4 separate regions of the Homo sapiens genome follow, and all the other regions are linked to region 1. Evidence: promoter capture Hi-C in 16 types of primary human blood cells and fetal thymus (Javierre and others, 2016). All regions are on one chromosome and are shown on one strand. The core of a region is centred on a gene start or on the middle of the fragment in contact, and the rest is flanking DNA. Distances in the headings are between cores, read along the strand shown. Region 1 holds the start of SRP19 (signal recognition particle 19). Region 2 holds the start of TMEM232 (transmembrane protein 232). Region 3 overlaps SLC25A46 (solute carrier family 25 member 46). Region 4 overlaps TRIM36 (tripartite motif containing 36).

Region 1 (4,431 bases), core at 128-2,627:
TGGTGCCCCAAAACATTATTATTATTTGAGACGGAGTCTTGCACTGTCGCCAGGCTGGAGTGCAGTGGTGTGATCTTGGCTCACTGCAACCTCCACCTCCTGGGTTCAAGAGATTCCCCTGCCTCCCGAGTAGCTGGGACTAAAGGCCTGTGCCACCATGCCTGGCTTATTTTTTATATTTTAGTAGAGATGGGGTTTCACCATGTTGGCCAAGATGGTGTCTATCTCCTGACCTCGTGATCCACCTGCCTCGGCCTCCCAAAGTGCTGGGATTACAGGCGTGAGCCACCGCACCCGGCCTTAAAACTATTACAATAGTAACAGCAAACATCACTGATCACCGATCACCATAACAGAAATAATGAAAAGGTTTGAAATATTGCAAAAATTACCAAATGTGACACAAAGTATACGCTGCTGGAAAAATGGCACCAAGCAACTTCTTTCAGGCGGATTTGCCAAAAACCTTCCATTTGTAAAAAGGCAGTATCTACTCGCAGCAGCAAGTGAAGTGCAATAATGAAGTATGCCTGTAGTGATGGCACATGGTATCCTTCAGAAGTTTTAAAAGGTGAATAGTTTTGTTTCGTTTTTCCTAGACGGAGTCTTGCTCTGTTACGCAGGCTGGAGTGCAGTGGTGTGATCTCAGCTCACTGCAACCTCCACCTCCTGGGTTCAAGTGATTCTCCTGTCTCAGCCTCCGAGTAGCTGGGATTACAGGCGTGTGCCACCACACTCGGCTAATTTTTGTATTTTTAGTACAGACGGGGTTTCAGCATGTTGGCCAGGCTGCTCTCCAACTCCTGACCTCATGATCCACCTGCCTCAGTCTCCCAAAGTGCTGGGATACAGGCGTGAGCCACCGCACCCGGCCTAAAAGGTGAATAGCTAAGTTTCTAACGCAGAGCACACTGAAACACAACGTCTATAACTTTGCTAGTTCTACCACTACAAAAATCCATTTTGCCAAACTGAAAGCAAGCTCTAGAGCCCAGGAACGGAGAAAAATTAAACGTAAGGAGTATTTCCTTCCCTGTCTAACATATATTTGCATCCTGAACCACACAGATTCCCCTCGTGGCACAGTCTTCGCCCCTTAACAGAGAGTAGCTAGTACCACCCATACTCGCTGAGAAACTGGAAACGAGGGAGGGTCGAAGTTAAACCCTTTTTAGTGGCGGTGCATGCGCCCCACATGGTCTTCCCGGCTTGGGAAAGGAATGAGAAGCTTTCATGATTCTCTCGCGAGAAGGGAAGTCTTCATGCCACGTCAGAGACTAGAGATCCTGGCGCCGAGCGACAGGTGCCGGAACAAACAGGCGATGAGAAATCGCGGACGCGGAACCATTTCTTGGGCAGGACTTCCGGCGGAAAAGCGGGCTGTCTCGGAAACTCAGAGCCGGGTTCCTCCCGGGTTTCTGCCGGGTTTCTCCCTGCGGCTCCTGGGTTGTTGAGACTCTTGTGAAGATGGCTTGCGCTGCCGCGCGGTCCCCGGCCGACCAGGACAGGTGGGTTCTGAGGCGGTGGGTCCTCCGAAAGGAAGGGGCTTGCTGTGGTGCTGCAGGTGCTACACCGCGCTTCTCCGCTCCGCGGCCTCCAGAATGGCCTAGCTGATCCAACTCGCTCTGTACGGGCCCCGCGCCTCTCCCTGGCAGCTCGTTTTTCTGAATCCTGCAGCAGCCACCAGGCTCTTCTCAGGGCTCCTGAAATTCCGACCATAGGTAGCCTAGTGTTTATCTGTACGCGAGACAAGGATTTTGGGTGCTACGTGGACATGATATCAAGTAATATAATCACAGTGTGAGAAATGTGTTCTTTTTAAGTATTGTTGCGTTCAGAAAGGCTCATTTGTGAAATTTTAAGGTTTTTAATACCTCGGACACTTTATATAAGAGGGCGGGCCCATTCTCAGGAACTTTTGACGGGCTGCTCTGTCTAATGTAACAGTTACCCAAGTCGTTTTGTTTCTATTCCTGTGGTTTTTTTCCATCCAAGGTAGTGGATAAAGTTTATTTTTAAATAAGTTAAAGTGAGGTAATTTAAAGAAATAACATTAAGCAAATAATAGCATAGGTGTACCAGCAATGATGACGACTACCACGGACCGAAAGAATGTATTTTTGAAAATACTTGTTATCTGTTGAGTGTAGTTGTCCAGGTTCTTGGCGTTTTGAATAAGGAATTGAACAAAACACACAAAGCAAGGCAGCGAAAGCAGATTTATTTTAAACAAAAGTACACTCCACAGGGTGGGAGCCGGCTCCAGCAAGCTACCCAAGAGCTGTTGGTTACAGAATTTTCTAGGGTTTAAATACCCTCTAGACGTTTCCCATTGACCTGTGCCAGTCTGATTGGTTGAGGGAGGGGGATCAATCAGAAAGAGGAGTAGGCCCGCGGCCAGTCTGATTAGTTGCTCGAGGGGACCACTCCGAGGTACTTTGATTTTTCAACTGCCACGCAGAAAAAGGAGGGGTTGAAAAGGGAGTACCCATCTGATATCTAGGCAGCATGAATTGGCCTTTGGTTCCCTGCCACCCGACCCTTTTCTCCTGCCTCTTACTGCTCTAGTGATACCACTTATGCTATTGTCTATGGCAGGTTTATTTGTATCTATCCTGCTTATTTAAATAATAAGAAGACCATCGCAGAGGGAAGGCGAATCCCCATAAGTAAGGTAAGCAAGATGGCTGGCACCTTGATCCTCGAGGGAATGGGGGGTGTCATCCTGGTCGGGCCACGTAATCTTGTTAGAGCCGCAGGGGGTTCTCTTCACTGCATTTATTTAGGGCTTGAGAACACAGCCAAGAATTGGGGTGCGTTCCTCAGTGTTGGTGAAACCAGAAAGGCATTAATTCATAGCTGAAGGGATATTTTTTTAACGTCTCTTAATGAGCCTTTGTTTGTAAAGGAGTGGGGGCAGAGTGTAGAGTTCACATGTTTTTAAAACAAAGGTTATGACGGTGTTTCCCTTGATATAGGAAATCAAAATTATGACATTGTACGATACATTAATAATGTTCAGAATGTAGTTGAGATTTTTTTAAGTGTGTGAAGAAGACATGCAGAAAGTTCAGCCCTGTTGAGTTTTATTAAAGTGTCATTTGTATTTTGTAATATGACAGATTTAAGACACCTAGGTTTGATGCAGTGAATTCTCCCATGATGAGTACATCTGGGTGGTAACAAGCACTCAAAAAAGAAAACACTACAAGCATCCAGGAAGATTGCTTTATGTTCCCTCTCAGTCACTGTCGCCTCCGCATATGCTCAAAAATACCAGGATGACCACCGTTATGACTTCAACACCATAGATTACTTTTGCTGCTTTTTCAGTTTTCTGTAAATGGAATTACACACTATGTAATTTTGTATCTTTTTTTCACTGAACTTTAAGCTTTTGAGATTTACCTACATATTTGAATGTAGTTGAATTTTCATTGCTCTATAACAGGGTTTGTCAATAGCAGCACCATTGCCGATTTGAGCTAGATAATTGTTGTTGGGGGTTGTTCTGTGCATTTTAAGATGTTCAGCAGTATCCCTGGCCTCTACCCACTAGATGACAGGTCAGCCCCCTCCAGCCCCCCATCCCCTAGTTGTGACAATCAAAAATGTCTCCAAGCATTGCTAGATGTCTTTTGTGTGTGGGTAGGGGTAGGGAGGCTGAGGACAGAATTTCCCTGCTCAAAACTACTGCCCTGTCTCCTCTATAGTATCGCATGGTGTGAGTATGCCAAAGTCTTTTCTACCTTCTTTTTTGTTTGTTTTTTTAAGAGACAGGGTCTGGCTCTGTCACCCAGGCTGGAGTGCGGCAGTGTAGTCTCAGCGCACTGCAGGCTCCACCTCCTGGACTCAAGCCATCCTCCAACCTCAGCCTTCTGAGTAGCTGGGACTACAGGCACATGCCACCATGTCCGGCTACTTTGGTATTTTTTTGTAGCAATGAGATTTCTCCATGTTGTCCAGGCTTGTCTCAAACTCCTGAGCTGAAGTGATCTGCTGGGATTACAGGTGTGAGCCACCACACCTGGCCCTTTCTACTCTGGATGGAAAATTGGATTATTTCTATTAATAGTTTGAGGCTATTATAAATAGATGTTTTTTAGAGAACATATTTTTGCTTTTTTGTAGAACGCATCTGGGAATGGAATTGCAGGGCCATAGAGAATGCATATATTCAGCTTTAGTAGATACTAGCAGTTTTCTAAAGTGTTTGTATGTGTAATTGTTTAAGCAGTCAATAATCATTGAGCACCTACTATGTTGAGAGTACCATGCTAGGTGCTGGGGAATACACTGGTTAACAAAACAAAGCCCCTGCCCTCAGAAGTTTATGTTCTGTTGGAGGGGAGATGGGCACACAGTTACGCATTAGTGTTATTCCTAGGAATTTTTAAAATTACAATAGAAGCATCTGTACTTAATGAAAAA
Region 2 (4,595 bases), core at 136-2,635, 2.1 Mb before region 1:
CGAGTACTTGAAACATCTAAACTGTGTATAACTTAACCTGTTATTTTCTCATTTCAGGTCCCTAAACACTGCTCTTAATCCAGTATTATTTTAATAAATCTCAGTTAATATAATCACTCAAACTGACAAGCTAGAAATTTCAGAGTTATCCTCAATTCCATGCTCTCTATAACTTCCCAAAACAATCAGGAATCAAATCCTAGATCACGGCCACTGCCATGAGATTAGGTTCTCATCATTTTTCTGGTGGACTACTGTTAAGATCATTTAACTGGCCTTCTGCAGAAAGGCATCCTAAAAGATAAATCAACTATTTTTATTTATTCATTCACCAAATAGTTAAATGACTAGTCTTCTGCAGAAAGGAACTCTAAAAAAGAAATCAATTATCTTTTATTTATTCATTCACCAGATAGGTATAGAGCACCTGCTACATAATAAATATTATAATGTTAAAAATATGGTTTCAACAAAAAAACTTGCCATGTTATAGTAAGAAGCTAGTAATCCTAAAGTCGATATAGATTTAGCAAGTGATTTATTATATTACTGTTGAAAACGCAATGAAAGTAATAGGAATAAAATAATTTACTAAGGTGGTATATTTTTTAAAGAGATTTGTTTTCTTTGGTATTGTAATGAATCAGCAGGAAACATTTTAAAGAAATGAATTCATTTGGTTTTATGGAAATATAAGCAAAAATAAAAAGTGTGATATATAGTTTAGAACATTAATTTCTAAAATACATTCTGTAAAATACTGCTTCTTGGGATGAAACTACCTCGAAAAGCTTTCTGTTGTGAAATGTTTGAGAAACCACTGGATTAGACAAAAATAAGTAGGTTTGCATATACTAAGATTTCTCAGTGTTAATATTCTCATATATACTCTACATCTCTCTGAGTAGCAGTGTGACATGTAGTACTTTAAAATTTATTGACTAAAGAAATCTTTAGAACATCATCTCCTAGAACTACATACAGGACACATTTTGGAAAATGTTAAGCATTTGTGAGCAGACACTTTACCAGGAGCTCTGGATGGACAATGAACTTCAAGACAGGAACATTTATCAAATTTATCATAACAATGAATGATTCTGATAATGAATCAGACGTTCAGCAAGAATATAGCACTACTCATTAAGATCATAAGGGTCCATGCAGAATAGGTCTTAGTGAAATAAAAATCTGCTACCTTCAATCAAGTATGTATGTGGATTACCCAAACCAAGAATGTTTATACTTTAAAGAGAAATGTTTCAGCTCATGAAATGGCTCCAGCAGTCTGCCTGGGTGCTTGGCAGTTCATCTGCAACCTGGCACAGACCCAGATTTCTTTTTTTAGTTTTACTATTAATTCTTCATGTATTTTTTTAAAGTTCCAATAAAAATGAGGTTGAAACTGTATACTTTAAAAGACAATTTCTGAAAAACAGATAATATTAAAATTATATCAAGACTTTGGAAAGGTAACATGCATTAGAGAATATAAGATTTAGACTCTAACCTGAGGAAGCAAATTATTTGACCAACCAAATGATAGAATTTGTTCAGACATACTGTTAAGATGGTAAGGTAAATAAGAGACTCTTACTACAGTCTTATCCCCTCCTAGAAATTTTTCTAATAGACAACTTGGATATTTTTCTCAAGATTAACGGCTTTTAAAAATTGTTTTATTACACATCTCCAATATACCCCCCTCTCTCTTTCACACACACACACACACACACACACACACACAGAGCGCCAAATTTTTGAACCTTCTCTTTTGAAGTCCAAGAGTCTTCATACTAAATAAATAATAAATAAATAAAAATCAAAAAGGTGCAATTTCACCAACCACAGAGGATGTGTGAAGACTGGTCTTCTGAATTCAAGGTTGCCCCAGGATAAGCGAGTCCAGGGGAGATTAAATGAATTTCCCTATTCATAGCAATAAGAAAGTTCCCACCTCCTTTATTCTCCCCAACAAAAAAGCTTCCCCTATCAAACGACCTGGTGGCTTTTCCAGGATGGACTGCTTAGACTCTTAGGAGGGGCCCAGATAGCAGGCCCAGCCTGGGGTTGCGAGTAGTGTTTCTTCTAACAAAGCTATGGCACCCTGAGAAAGGAGGCTCAGTATTCCCCTGTGAGGATCTTTGTGGGTCTTTCAGTTGCCCTAGGATGGTGAATATGACAATAACCTGAGCTCCCAAATCATCTGAAGCAGGACCTCTTAATCACTCACCGCTGCGCTCTGAGCCGCTGGGAACCAAGGCTGGTTGCTAAGGACGCTGTGGGAGTCGCTCTGAGACAGACGTTGCTCTTTTACGGTCTCGTGACCAGGGCTTAGCCAATCAGGACTTATAAGTGAATTTCCACCTGCCCTGTCCCGTCTCCACCACATTTGTGTTCAATTTCTAAAGAATAAATGCAATGTTGTGTGAAAGACCTTTATTCGTTTTTAAAGAACATAGTAATGATTTGTTTCGAATATTGTACATACTTGCATATCCTGCAAGAAGCCACGGCAAGAAGCGGCTTCACAGTGCTTTAATGTCTCCTCAGTGTCTTAATGCTGCTTCCCCAAAACAAACCAGCACGCCTATCATACCAAAAGTAGCTATGTCTTTAAATTAAATTGCCGTTCGTAAGTTCCTTTTACATAGAAAATTTGGAGCAGTCAGTGTCCTCAGCACCCGTCAGTGAGTAAACAAAGCACCTAGAATGTTCTGCTATGTACTAAACACCAGAGGGCGAATTTAAACACAAAAGAACGCCTCTTTTTAAAGGTAGTATGCAATAGAATTATCTAATATAAGTCCTTTAAAAATCCTTGTAGAATTCCTATGTCTACTAACGAGCAACTGTATATATTTTACAAAGGTTCACCAGTGTAAAATACTATATGGAAGAATGGGGAAGGGCATTTATGATTAAATTCATACGTAGGCCGGGCGCAGTGGCTCATGCCTGTTATCCCAGCACTTTGGGAGGCCAAGGTGGGCGGATCACGAGGTCAGGAGTTCGAGACCATCCTGGCTAACATGGTGAAACCCGTCTCTACTAAAAATACAAAAGTTAGCCAGGCGTGGTGGCACCCACCTATAATCCCAGCTACTCAGGAGGCTGAGGCAGGAGAATTGCTTGAACCCAGGAGATGGAGGTTGCAGTGAGCCGAGATCATGCCACTGCACCCCAGCCTGGGAAACAGAGCGAGATTCCATCTAAAGAAAAAAAAAATACTAAAACGTAATATACAGGGATTGTCCTGTGAAATGACCTGCCTTTAAAAATTAGAACTTTGAAAGAAAATTTAACTTGAACTACTTCGATTCGGAATTAAGTTTTTTTGTTTTTTGAGTGCATTTTTATGTTTAAAACAGAAATTACAATATGTGATCTCAGGCTTCTCTGACGTATCACTCCTAGAAGATCAGTAAGTTAAAGGTAATAATGAAAAGTGAAATTGACAAAGACTATAAACTACATATGTGAGAGAACAAATCCTAGAATATCAACAGTGCTTACCATAATCCAGATAAAATAAAAATGAAAAGACTGTGGTATTTAATAATAGCCTGGGGGCTTGCTTGTTTTAATTTCAAGAGATCTAGAAAAGTGTTAAAAGCATAAAAAAATACAAACTGTTAACCAGGTTATTCATAATCAAATGAAGATTGAATTAAAAAGGAATAAAAGGAAGGCCGAATAAAAAATTCTTCTCCATAATATAAGAATCAGTTGAAACTATAGCATGTTTAGAGAAAAAAAGTCACCCCATCGATTCTACAGTGAAGACAACAGAACAAGTTTATATAAGGAAGAATTCACAAATACATATATATATATATTACACATATCTACTTATTCTAAATATATCTACTGATTTTATATATGTATCTACTGATTTTATTTATATATATATCAGTAGAATGAAAGATTACAGAAAAAGCATAAAATTTATATATGATAAATTTGCCATTTTAACTCAGTGGGGAAAAACTGTACAGAGGCTGAGCACAATTTGAAAGAAAATAAATCTGAACTACTATCTCATACCATAGCAACAATAAATCTCAGAGGAATGAAGCTTAAAACAGGAAATAATTTTAAATAATTTTAAGATAATATTGGTATAACCTTAGAGTCACAATAATATTAAGCTAATAGGAGACCCACAATGATTTTAAAAAATGACAAGAATATTTAGAAAATTTATGTAAGAAAAATAAATCTAATAAAGTCATACCTCCCCTTTCTCCCTTTAATTAGTCATCTACATTGAAGTTTTGACAAGACAAATCTAATTTTTTCAAATTATTATATATATACCTATATATATATAATCCTAAAATGGCCATTAATTAGCAATTAGGAAAATAAGCATGTCAAAACCATCCTAACCCCTTAGTATGGCACAATTATGCTTTCAGAAACTATATCATTGCCTACTTGCCCAGTTTTTTTCTGCTTTTTTTTTTTTTACCAGTCTTTTTTATTTTATTTTATTATTATTTTTTGAGATGAAGTCTCGCTTTTGTCCCCCAGGCTGGAGTGCAATGGAGCGATCTCAGCTCATTGCAACCTCCACCTCCTGGGTTCAAGCG
Region 3 (4,896 bases), core at 2,334-4,833, 2.1 Mb before region 1:
TCTATCCAAAGAATAAAATGAAATGTAATCTGTCTGTCTCCCATCAAAAAAGTAATTGTGCATGGAGGCTTCTTTCTAAACACTCTAATGCTTACAAGATATTTAGCAACATAGCATCTAGATTTTGTTCATAATCAGCGTTTGGTGATAGCATTACTTTTTTTTATATCTAACGATCATTTTAAGAAAATCCTTTAGTCTTGATTATTGTGATCCTTAGTGAATACCATTTTCAAAAATATTGGAATTGCACAAAGCTTACATTTCATGCCATAATGATCATTATTTTAAACATTTTAACGAAGAAAAACACCTTATTTGCATAATTAAACCCGAGGGTGTTAATGTCAATATAAATAAAATCTGTGTTTTCCATTCTGCTGGAGTTGTTTTTTGCTTCAATATTTATACTTAAAGCTTTGATTCATTTGATAGACTATTATTACATATAAATATGTGTGCACATGTATGTATATGTCACTCTGAGACCTGAAACCCACAGCTGTAATTGTTTTGTGGGGCACATTCTCAAAATAAATATTTGATACATAAATATTAGTCAATTAACATGGTCATTAAGAATCTTATAATTTAAGATTTATACTTAAATTTATACTTAAACCTTATAATTTAAGTGCACCAAAACCAAACATTTTTAGAATGGGGTTCATGAAGATCAAATGACTCTGCTGATAGGAATTCTGTTATTAGGACATTTTCTGAAAGAAATAATTTGCAGCATTAAATGCCATTTAATTGATGTGCCATTTCCCACATTAAACATTCAGAGATCTAGTTTCATCTTATACTATAGACATTAATATTATGTATTATGTATTGTTTCCCTTATTTACTAGTATGCAGATCTGGTTTTCATTCTTTTCATATTGAATTTCGTTATGGGTAGAATCATTTGCAAACATTTCTAGACATTTTTAAAGATCTATTTAATTTGTTTAAGAATGGAAAACATAAAATAATGCATGATTCTTCAGGCAAGAATAATTTCAGAAAGATACCTGTTGTAAATTTAATTTATCTCTATGTAGACATACATATACATAAATTATTTTTATATAGTCTCTTTACAGAAAATGTATTGGCACATCCTTGCATTGTTCTACGCCGCCAATGTCAGGTAAATGTAATTTCTGTGATCTTTTGAAGCAATACTTCTGACCCTAATATGAAGGGCAGAACTCACATAAATGACATGAAACCAGGTAATTGTTACTTCATGTGAAATGTTCCAAACTTTTTGGTCTCAAAACCTCTTTAAAGTCTTAAAAAAATATTGAGGATCCTAAATAACTTTGGTTTATGTTGGTCATATCTATTGATAGTTACCATTTCAGAAATTAAAATTGGGAAAATTTCAATGCATCTATATAATTCATTAAAATAATAACACCTGTTAGTAAGATAATATGTTTTTATGAAAGTAACTATTTTGCATTTTTGCAAATATCTTTAATATCTGACATAATAGGAGAGAGCCAGTTTCTCTCGTATGCTTCTGCAGTCAATCTGTTGCATCACGTGGTTTTTGAAAGAAGCAAGGAAGTTTAGTCTTGTACACATGTATAGTTGAAAGCAGGAGAGGAGTATATTATATTCTTTTGAGATAATTGTGGGTATTCTTTGCAATTGCACCAAAACTCACTGTGTCGCAGTTTCTTAAAGGTTATTTGCAATGTGAAATCAGAAATCATTTTAGTGAACTTTTTATACTTTGTTACATTAAAAAATCCATTTAACTATACTGCATCTTGAATAGATATTTTTACTTATGCCTGATTCCATGTAATTGTGCATAAGTTATTTGAAAAATATTGACCAATTGAGTTACATAGATCTTCCTGTTGTTAAAACATTTGATTATAAAATATCAAAAAATCATCTTCATTAAAAATACTACTGATCTCACTAGAAAAGTCTATAAGTATTGTCAGCTCTTGACGATGCATATAGATTTTCCAAAATTCTGAGTTTTAGTTGAAAATTCAAACTTATCATTGACAGTAAATACTGTTATTTATTTTTGTTTTAATCAACAATCTCACTTTGTTTATTTTTTAAAATATGTCTGTCCTGAAAGTGAATAGGTATAGTCCGTCAATGAGTTTTTCTAAGTAAAAATGATGTTCCGTGAAAAAAGTGGCTAGTTTAGCTTGCAGTTCTATCATACAAGTGCTTTCCTCATGACAGCAATCTTACTTCCTTATGTAACACACAGGATATTAATTAGAAAGAGGATGTGTACTCAAAGGTCAAGGATTCATAAAATTAACATTTTGTTACTTCATTGTCAAGGATATTACTATATGAAGGTTGCTTTTTTCTCTCTATGGGTAAATGAGGTGAAAAATTACTGTAAGTACGAAAATACAGTTTGATGGTGCTGCCTCAATTTGTGCTAATGAGCTGGGAGTTTTACCTACCATTGCTTTTGTACCATTAGTGAAAATGTCAAGACAGTGAAAAAAGGAAATTATATCTTAGTAATCACTAGGAAAATAATTTTGAACTTGTCAAGCCCCTGAAAGGGTAATGGGGCCCTCAGGAGTCAGTGGACCCCACTTGCAAACTCTGTTATAACCCACTTTTTTTTTTTGTTTGTTTGAGACGGAGTCTCGCTCTGTTGCCCAAACTGGAGTGCAGTGGCATGATCTCGGCTCACTGCAAACTCCGCCTCCTGGGTTCACGCCATTCTCCTGCCTCAGCCTCCCGAGTAGCTGGGACTACAGGAGCCCGCCACCGTGCCCAGCTAATTTTTTGTATTTTTAGTAGAGACGGGGTTTCATCGTGTTAGCCAGGATGGTCTCGATCTCCTGACCTCATGATCCGCCCGCCTCAGCCTCCCAAAGTGGTGGGATTACAGGTGTGAGCCACTGCGCCCGTCCTGTTATAACCCACTTTCTCTGTAAAGTAATGCTTCCTGTATTTGTTAGCTGTTAGAGTTCAAAACAGTATAAATCATTATAAATTAATCTGTTCATGCTTAGCACTGAAAAGTATGTATACAGAAATACCATTAAAGTAGCATTGACTGTATGTGCCACAGAACAGTGTATTTCAGATATATATTTTACATTGTAGTAATATTAACATGGAGATCCAATGGATACATTACATATAAGTAACAAATATATTATTTTTAAATGTTTTATGAAATAATACCATTAGAATGTAATACATTCTAATATTTTATTGTTTCACATAATAAATATTGTTTTGACACTCCCCCAGTTGATTTCATATACCAGTCAGTTGCCAAGTACAGTTTGAAAAATGCTTGCCTAAAATGAACATGAGTTGGGAGATGTAATTCAGTTGTTTAAGGCAAACCAAATATCAAATAAGACCCTCTTTATTATATAGTCTACAGTACTGTGTGTATTATGCATTGGTCTTCAGATTGTATTTATATAACCATACATACTGTACTTTTAATAGGTTATTTAAAGCACTTTTAAGAGTAATTTTGCTTATGTGTAATTTATGTTGACTTTGGAATTAACTTTTGTTTATACTGCAATTCCACCATATTTCTTTCATGGCTCTGTTATTTCTTGACAAAACATTAACAGAAAAAAATAATGAAATATCTTTTTTACAGGTTAATTACCATGCTCAGCATTACCATCTCACTCCATTTACAGTCATCAATATTATGTACAGTTTCAACAAAACTCAGGTGAGAATTTTGTCTGGATTCTATTAAAGGTTTATATAAGTGTCATTTGGGTTTAGTAATCATTAAAGCAAGAATAATTACTTTCAGTTTGGTCAATAAAACATCTTAACTGTTGTAGTAAAACTAAAGTAGCACAACGATATGTTTTTGAATCTTTCAAAATGTAATTTAGCAAAAGTACAATTTAATTTAGCAAAACCACAAAGAGCTGTGCTAAGATGATGTCTCTGCTATCAAGAGGCTCATATTTATTCATGGAGACAAAATCTTTGAAGATTGTGCTGCAGTAAGATAAAGGCAATATTAGAAGTACAGAATGCTGTCAGAATACAAAAGAGAAGTACCTTATCAAAACTGGGCTTGGGCACAGTGTATGGCTGGGAAAAACTTTGGGAAAAGAAAGGCCCGAATTGTGTGCTTCTTGTTGAGAAGTCTGACTCTTCATGATGAGGATAGAGAAAAGGTTTTTAAAGTAGACGTGTGAAGGCAGAAGACAAAGAGAGATCATAATGTTTGGGAATGGATTTAATGGAGTACAATGGGAGCTTGAAGTGGGGGTTGAAGAGTAAGAGAAAGATGAAAAAGTAGCCAGAGAAGTAAGCAGGATCCAGATTCTAAAGCACCTTCTAAGAACTGCACACTACTAGATCTTAAAAGCTACAAGAGTACTGTTGAAGGTGTTTTAGCCATGACCAAAATATCTTGAAGACCTTTGGATTGTTTGGCAATATCTATTAAAATTTAAAATGTACATGTTCTTTCACTTCCAGGAACTTATCCCACATAGATGTGCACATATATATGCAAAAATATATATACAAGGATGTCCTATGACATTGCATATAATAGACTGGAAATGATTAAATGTCCATCACTAGGGTACCAGTGAAATAATTATGGTATATTATGGTGAAACACCTTGTAACCTTTAAAAATAAGAGGGTAGCTCTGTGTATACTAATGTGGAATGATCTCCAGGATATTTTTTATGTTTCAAGATAATACTACCTGTTAAAAATAAGCAAAACAAAAATATTTCTATAACATACACACACAGATATACTTGTATATGCATGGATTATCCCGATAAATTTTAAAACTGCTGCTGAGGACTGGGATGAAAAGGAGACAGACTTTTCAGCTGATACCCTATTGCTTCTTTTTAATTCTATCATGTATATCTATTAATAATATAGATA
Region 4 (4,450 bases), core at 1,047-3,546, 2.3 Mb after region 1:
TCAGGTGATCCACCCGACATGGCCTCCCAAAGTGCTGGGATTACAGGTGTGAGCCACTGTGCCCAGACTTACAAACACAGTTAATAAGGAGTTTAACACAAAGTTCATGTTCAATATCCAATATCTACTTCAAGTATGTATCAAAAGACGAGAGTTCATTTTGACATTTTAACAGTGGGGGAGGCCCCTTTATAACTACAGTTTTAATTTATTCACCTGGAAAAATTAACTCTCAAGATGACAAAAATAATTTTCCTTCCAGTTACCACTGAATATATATCTATAAGCTTACCCCCACTACCATCCCAGCCCACAGTTCTAACACATACCTGGTCTGTTAATTCGGTCAATTTTATCCATACTAGGGGAGGGGAGCCGAAGTCGAGGACTGCTTTGATTGGAGTTGTCTGATCCCACATCGTTGAATGAATCATCGAGAGTCAGCAGGAGTTCTTTTACACATTTATGACAGATACTATGTTGGCAAGGGAGAATCAATGGGTGGGTAAACAGCTCCTTGCATGCTGGGCAAATGAGCTCCCTTTCGATATTCTTAATGGTAACCTTGAGAGTAAAATAGTCCAAGTTAAAGGCTCTTAGTGGGTAAATATATTAACATTCTTATACCTCCTGAATAAGTACATGTGTTTATTTTTCCAAAAAGAATTAAGAAAATGATTTTCTAAATTTTAAATTTCTTTTCCCCAATAAAATTTGATACCATCAACTGCCCTCAACACCCATAACCCAGAACTGAAGGAACATGAGATAGTAAAAGGCAAAAATGAAGAGAAAAATTATGTAAAATATTAGGGGACCATGATATTTTATCAAAAATTATAAAGCCATCATTCGAATCTCCATCACCAGTGCACTGATTTAGGACTTCGGTGAAATCCTAAAAGTAGATCATGTCAATAAAAATTTTGAATACAGCACTAAGAGTAAGACTATATTCTTATTTAGTGAATTAACACTGTGACTGACAAATAACAGGAGCTATTAAACACTAGCTGAGTCAGTATGTTCATGGAAACCTAGTTGGTATCTATTTACAAGCTGAATTATCAGCAATTTTCTACATTAAATGCGACCATTCTTCATTAATGCCTGAGGTTCTCATGCTGTATATCAAAGCAATTATCTTAAAAGCACTTTATGAGTATGTATTAGTCCATTTTCACACTGCTATAAAGAAAATTACCTGAGGCTGGGTAATTTATAAAGAAAAGAGATTTAAGTGACTCACAGTTCCACATGGCTAGGGAGTCCTCAAGAAACTTACAATCATGGCAGAAGGGGAAGCAGATCTGTGTTACGTGGTGGCAGGTGAGAGAGAGCAAGAGCAGGGATACTGCCTTACAAAACCATCAGATCTTATGAGAATTCGCTATCACAAGAACAGCATGGGGAAAATCTACCCCTGTGATTCAATGGCCTCCCACCAGGTCTCTCCCTCAACACCTTGGGATTACAATTCAAGATAAGATTTGAACCTAACCATATCATTGTGGCCCTGGCCCCTCCCAAATCTCATGTCCTCACATTTCAAAACCAATCATGCTTCCAAACAGTCCCCCAAAGTCTTAACTCATTTCAGCATTAGCTCAAAAGTCCAAGTCCAAAGTCTCATCTGAGACAAAGCAAGTCCCTTCTGCCTAGGGGCCTGGAGAATCAAAAGCAAGTTAGTTACTTCCAGGATACAATGGGTGTACAGGCATTGGACAAATGCTCCCATTCCAAATGGGAAAAATTGGCCAAAACAAAGGGGCTACAGGTCCCATGAAAGTCTGAAACCCAAAAGGACAGTTATTAAGTCATAAAGCTCACAAGTGAGATCTCCTTTGACTCAATGTCTCTCATTCAGGGTACGCTGATCCAAAGGGTGGACTGCCATGGCCTTGGGCAGTTCCACCCCTGTGGCTTTGCAGGGTACAGCCCACACACCACCTGCTTTCATGGCTGGCATTGAGTATCTGCAGGTTTCCCAGGCGCATGATGAAAGCTGTTGGTGGATCTACCATTCTGGGGTCTGGAGGACCATGGTCCTCTTCTCAGAGCTCCCCTAGGGAGTGCCCCAGTGGGGACTCTGTGTGGCGGCTTATATCTCACATTTCCCCTTTGCACTGCCCTAGCAGAGGTTCTCCATGAGAGCTTCGCCCCTGCAGCAGACTTCTGCCTGGATATCCAGGTGTTTCTGTACATCCTCTGAAATCTAGGCAGAGGTTTCCAAACCTCAACTCTTGACTTTTGTGCACTGGTAGGCCCAACACCATGTGTAAGCCACCAAGGCTTGCACCCTCTGAGGCAATGGTCTGAACTGTACCTTGGCCCCTTTTAGCCACAACTGGTACTGGAACAGCTGGGACACAGGGCACCAAGTCCCAGTGATGGCAGCTGCAGCCCATCTGGAGCAGCTGCTGCAAAGATGCTGGCTGCAGTTGGGAAGGCACAGCCGGACCTGCTTGCTCTGCAGAGCCAGCGGGACCCAGGAACAGGCAGGAGCCCTTCTCCCTTCCGAGTTGGTGCGGAGGGAGCCCCATGCTCCTGGGTGCAATTGCAGCCACCCAGCTGTGGACTAGGGCATTCCTATGCTCTCGGGGGCCCAGGATGCCTCTCTTCCCCCACATGCTCAGAAGTGCCTGCTCCTACTGCTTGGCCTCTCCCCATTCCCAGTGCCCACTCTGACTTTGGAGAAAAGCTGTGGCCAAGCCCGGGCACTGACATGACCTGGCCAGGTGTGTGTGTGCTTGAGGAGATGCTGACACACCAGCCCCCTGCCACCTCAGCTCCCTCTGGACTTTGGGCGCTGATGAACGTGGGAGGGAGGCCAAGGGCAGGGCTGAGGGTGACTCAACGTGGTACTGCAGGCGTCCCTCAGCTAAAACAGTCTGGGCACCATGAACAGCAGTGGGAGGGAGACAGGCTCCTGGGAGGAAAGGGACAGGTCCCTGCTGAAACCCCACCTTCAAGCCAGGGATAGCCTGAAGCCTAGGGTCCAGGCTGCCAGTTCCACTGACTGGAGTGAAAACTTACAGTGAATTTTCCAGGCCCACCCATGGCCACCCATGGGCCAATCAGCACACACTTCCTCCCCTCTGAAGCCCATAAAAACCGCAAACTCAGCCAGACTCTGGCAGATGATAGGACGACCTGCCTGCAGGTAAGAGCTACCCACTTGGGTCTCCTCTCCACTGAGGACTGCACACTCGACAAAATGACCTGCCTGCAGAGAGGAGGTACCCACTCCGGGTCTCTTCTCTGCTGAGAGCTGCAGTTGTCGGGAGGAACTGCCTGCAGAAAGCAGCTACCCATGACAGGTCTCCTGAGAGCTACTCTTTTGCTCAATAAAGCACCTTGTTCACCCTCCAGTTGTCCATGTAGCTCATTCTTCCTGGACACAGTACAGGAACTCTGGACCTGCCAAATGGCAGGACCAAACAAGCTGTAACACAAACTGTGTCAAATACACCCTGCTGCTCGCCATGTTGTGGGTGACGATGAGGAGACAAGAGAGGAGAGAAGAGCTGCAGCCCTTCAGGGAGCCTGGACTTAGGAGCTCCCCAAGCCAGGGCTGTGACATCCTCTTTGTGGCTCTGCAGTTGCCGGCATCTCCAAGTTTCTGGGTGCCACCATGTTCCACAGTGCTTGTAGTGGGAGCCACTTGTGGTACACCTGTTCCAGCCACAGCAAGGAGCCGGCGCCCATACTGGCACCTGGACCTGCCTGCCCCGCCACAGCCACCATGCCTGGCTGTGCACACTGTACCCCGCGCTCGCTCACTCATGCACCCCTTGCTGCTCTGCACCTGGCTTGCCGTTGGCAGCCGTGGGATCTGGGCCAGTAGTGAAAACCAAGCACAGCCTGCTGGGTCAAGTGGGCAGAACAAGCCCAGTGGGCCTGAGCAAAACTTGGGCAAAGGCAACACTTGCCACAGAGGTTTCTGGCTGGTGAAGCGACACCCTAAGGATCCTGTGATACCGAGGCTGCACACAGCAGCAGGGCCCTGGGCCCACTCCACTAAAACATTTTTCTCTCCTAGGCCTCCAGGCCTGTGATGGGGCTCTCTTCATTAATGCACCTGTTTGGCCCTGCCAAACGGAGGGACTGCTGCCAAGATCTCTGACATGTCCTGGAGACATTTTACCCATAGTCTTGGCAATTAACATTTGAGTCTTTTTTACTTAAGCAAATTTCTGCAGCTAGCTTGAATCCCTCCCCAGAAAATAGGTTTTTCCTTTCTACTCCATGGTAAGGCTGCAAATTTTCCAAACTTTTACGCTCCGCTTCATCTCTCTCAAGTTCAAAGCTTCACAAATCTCTAGGACAGGGGCAAAACACTGCCAGTCTCTTTGCTAAAGCATAGCAAGAGTCACCTTCACTCCAGTTTCCGACAAGTTCCTCATCTCCATCTGAGACCACCTTGGCCTGCACTTCTTTGTCCATACCA

What was found. The method cuts DNA at HindIII sites, captures the fragments that hold promoters and counts their contacts. A CHiCAGO score of 5 or more calls a contact.
Region 2: a contact is called between a fragment that was not itself captured here and the fragment with the promoter of SRP19 in region 1, in 1 of 17 cell types (fetal thymus). The highest score is 7.2, in fetal thymus.
Region 3: a contact is called between a fragment that was not itself captured here and the fragment with the promoter of SRP19 in region 1, in 1 of 17 cell types (fetal thymus). The highest score is 5.1, in fetal thymus.
Region 4: a contact is called between a fragment that was not itself captured here and the fragment with the promoter of SRP19 in region 1, in 1 of 17 cell types (fetal thymus). The highest score is 5.4, in fetal thymus.

What each region holds. Positions count from the first base shown.
Region 1 is chr5:112,859,910-112,864,340 of GRCh38, forward strand. SRP19 (signal recognition particle 19) reads left to right here and starts at 1,378. Exons shown (of 5, transcript NM_003135.3): 1 at 1,378-1,508; 2 at 2,599-2,674. The coding sequence starts at 1,468. RefSeq lists enhancers at 1,143-1,437, 1,196-1,275, 1,376-1,675. The HindIII fragment of the contact is 2,166 bases long and covers 1,227-3,392 here.
Region 2 is chr5:110,724,394-110,728,988 of GRCh38, forward strand. TMEM232 (transmembrane protein 232) reads right to left here and starts at 2,278. Exons shown (of 14, transcript NM_001039763.4): 1 at 2,234-2,278. The HindIII fragment of the contact is 1,192 bases long and covers 790-1,981 here.
Region 3 is chr5:110,742,650-110,747,545 of GRCh38, forward strand. SLC25A46 (solute carrier family 25 member 46) reads left to right here. Exons shown (of 8, transcript NM_138773.4): 3 at 1,081-1,138; 4 at 3,620-3,697. Among named protein-coding and RNA genes, the nearest start is that of SLC25A46, 6.1 kb to the left of the region's middle. The HindIII fragment of the contact is 6,336 bases long and covers 416-4,896 here.
Region 4 is chr5:115,163,189-115,167,638 of GRCh38, forward strand. It overlaps TRIM36 (tripartite motif containing 36), which reads right to left. Exons shown (of 10, transcript NM_001300759.2): 2 at 330-564. Among named protein-coding and RNA genes, the nearest start is that of TRIM36, 4.5 kb to the right of the region's middle. The HindIII fragment of the contact is 4,022 bases long and covers 286-4,307 here.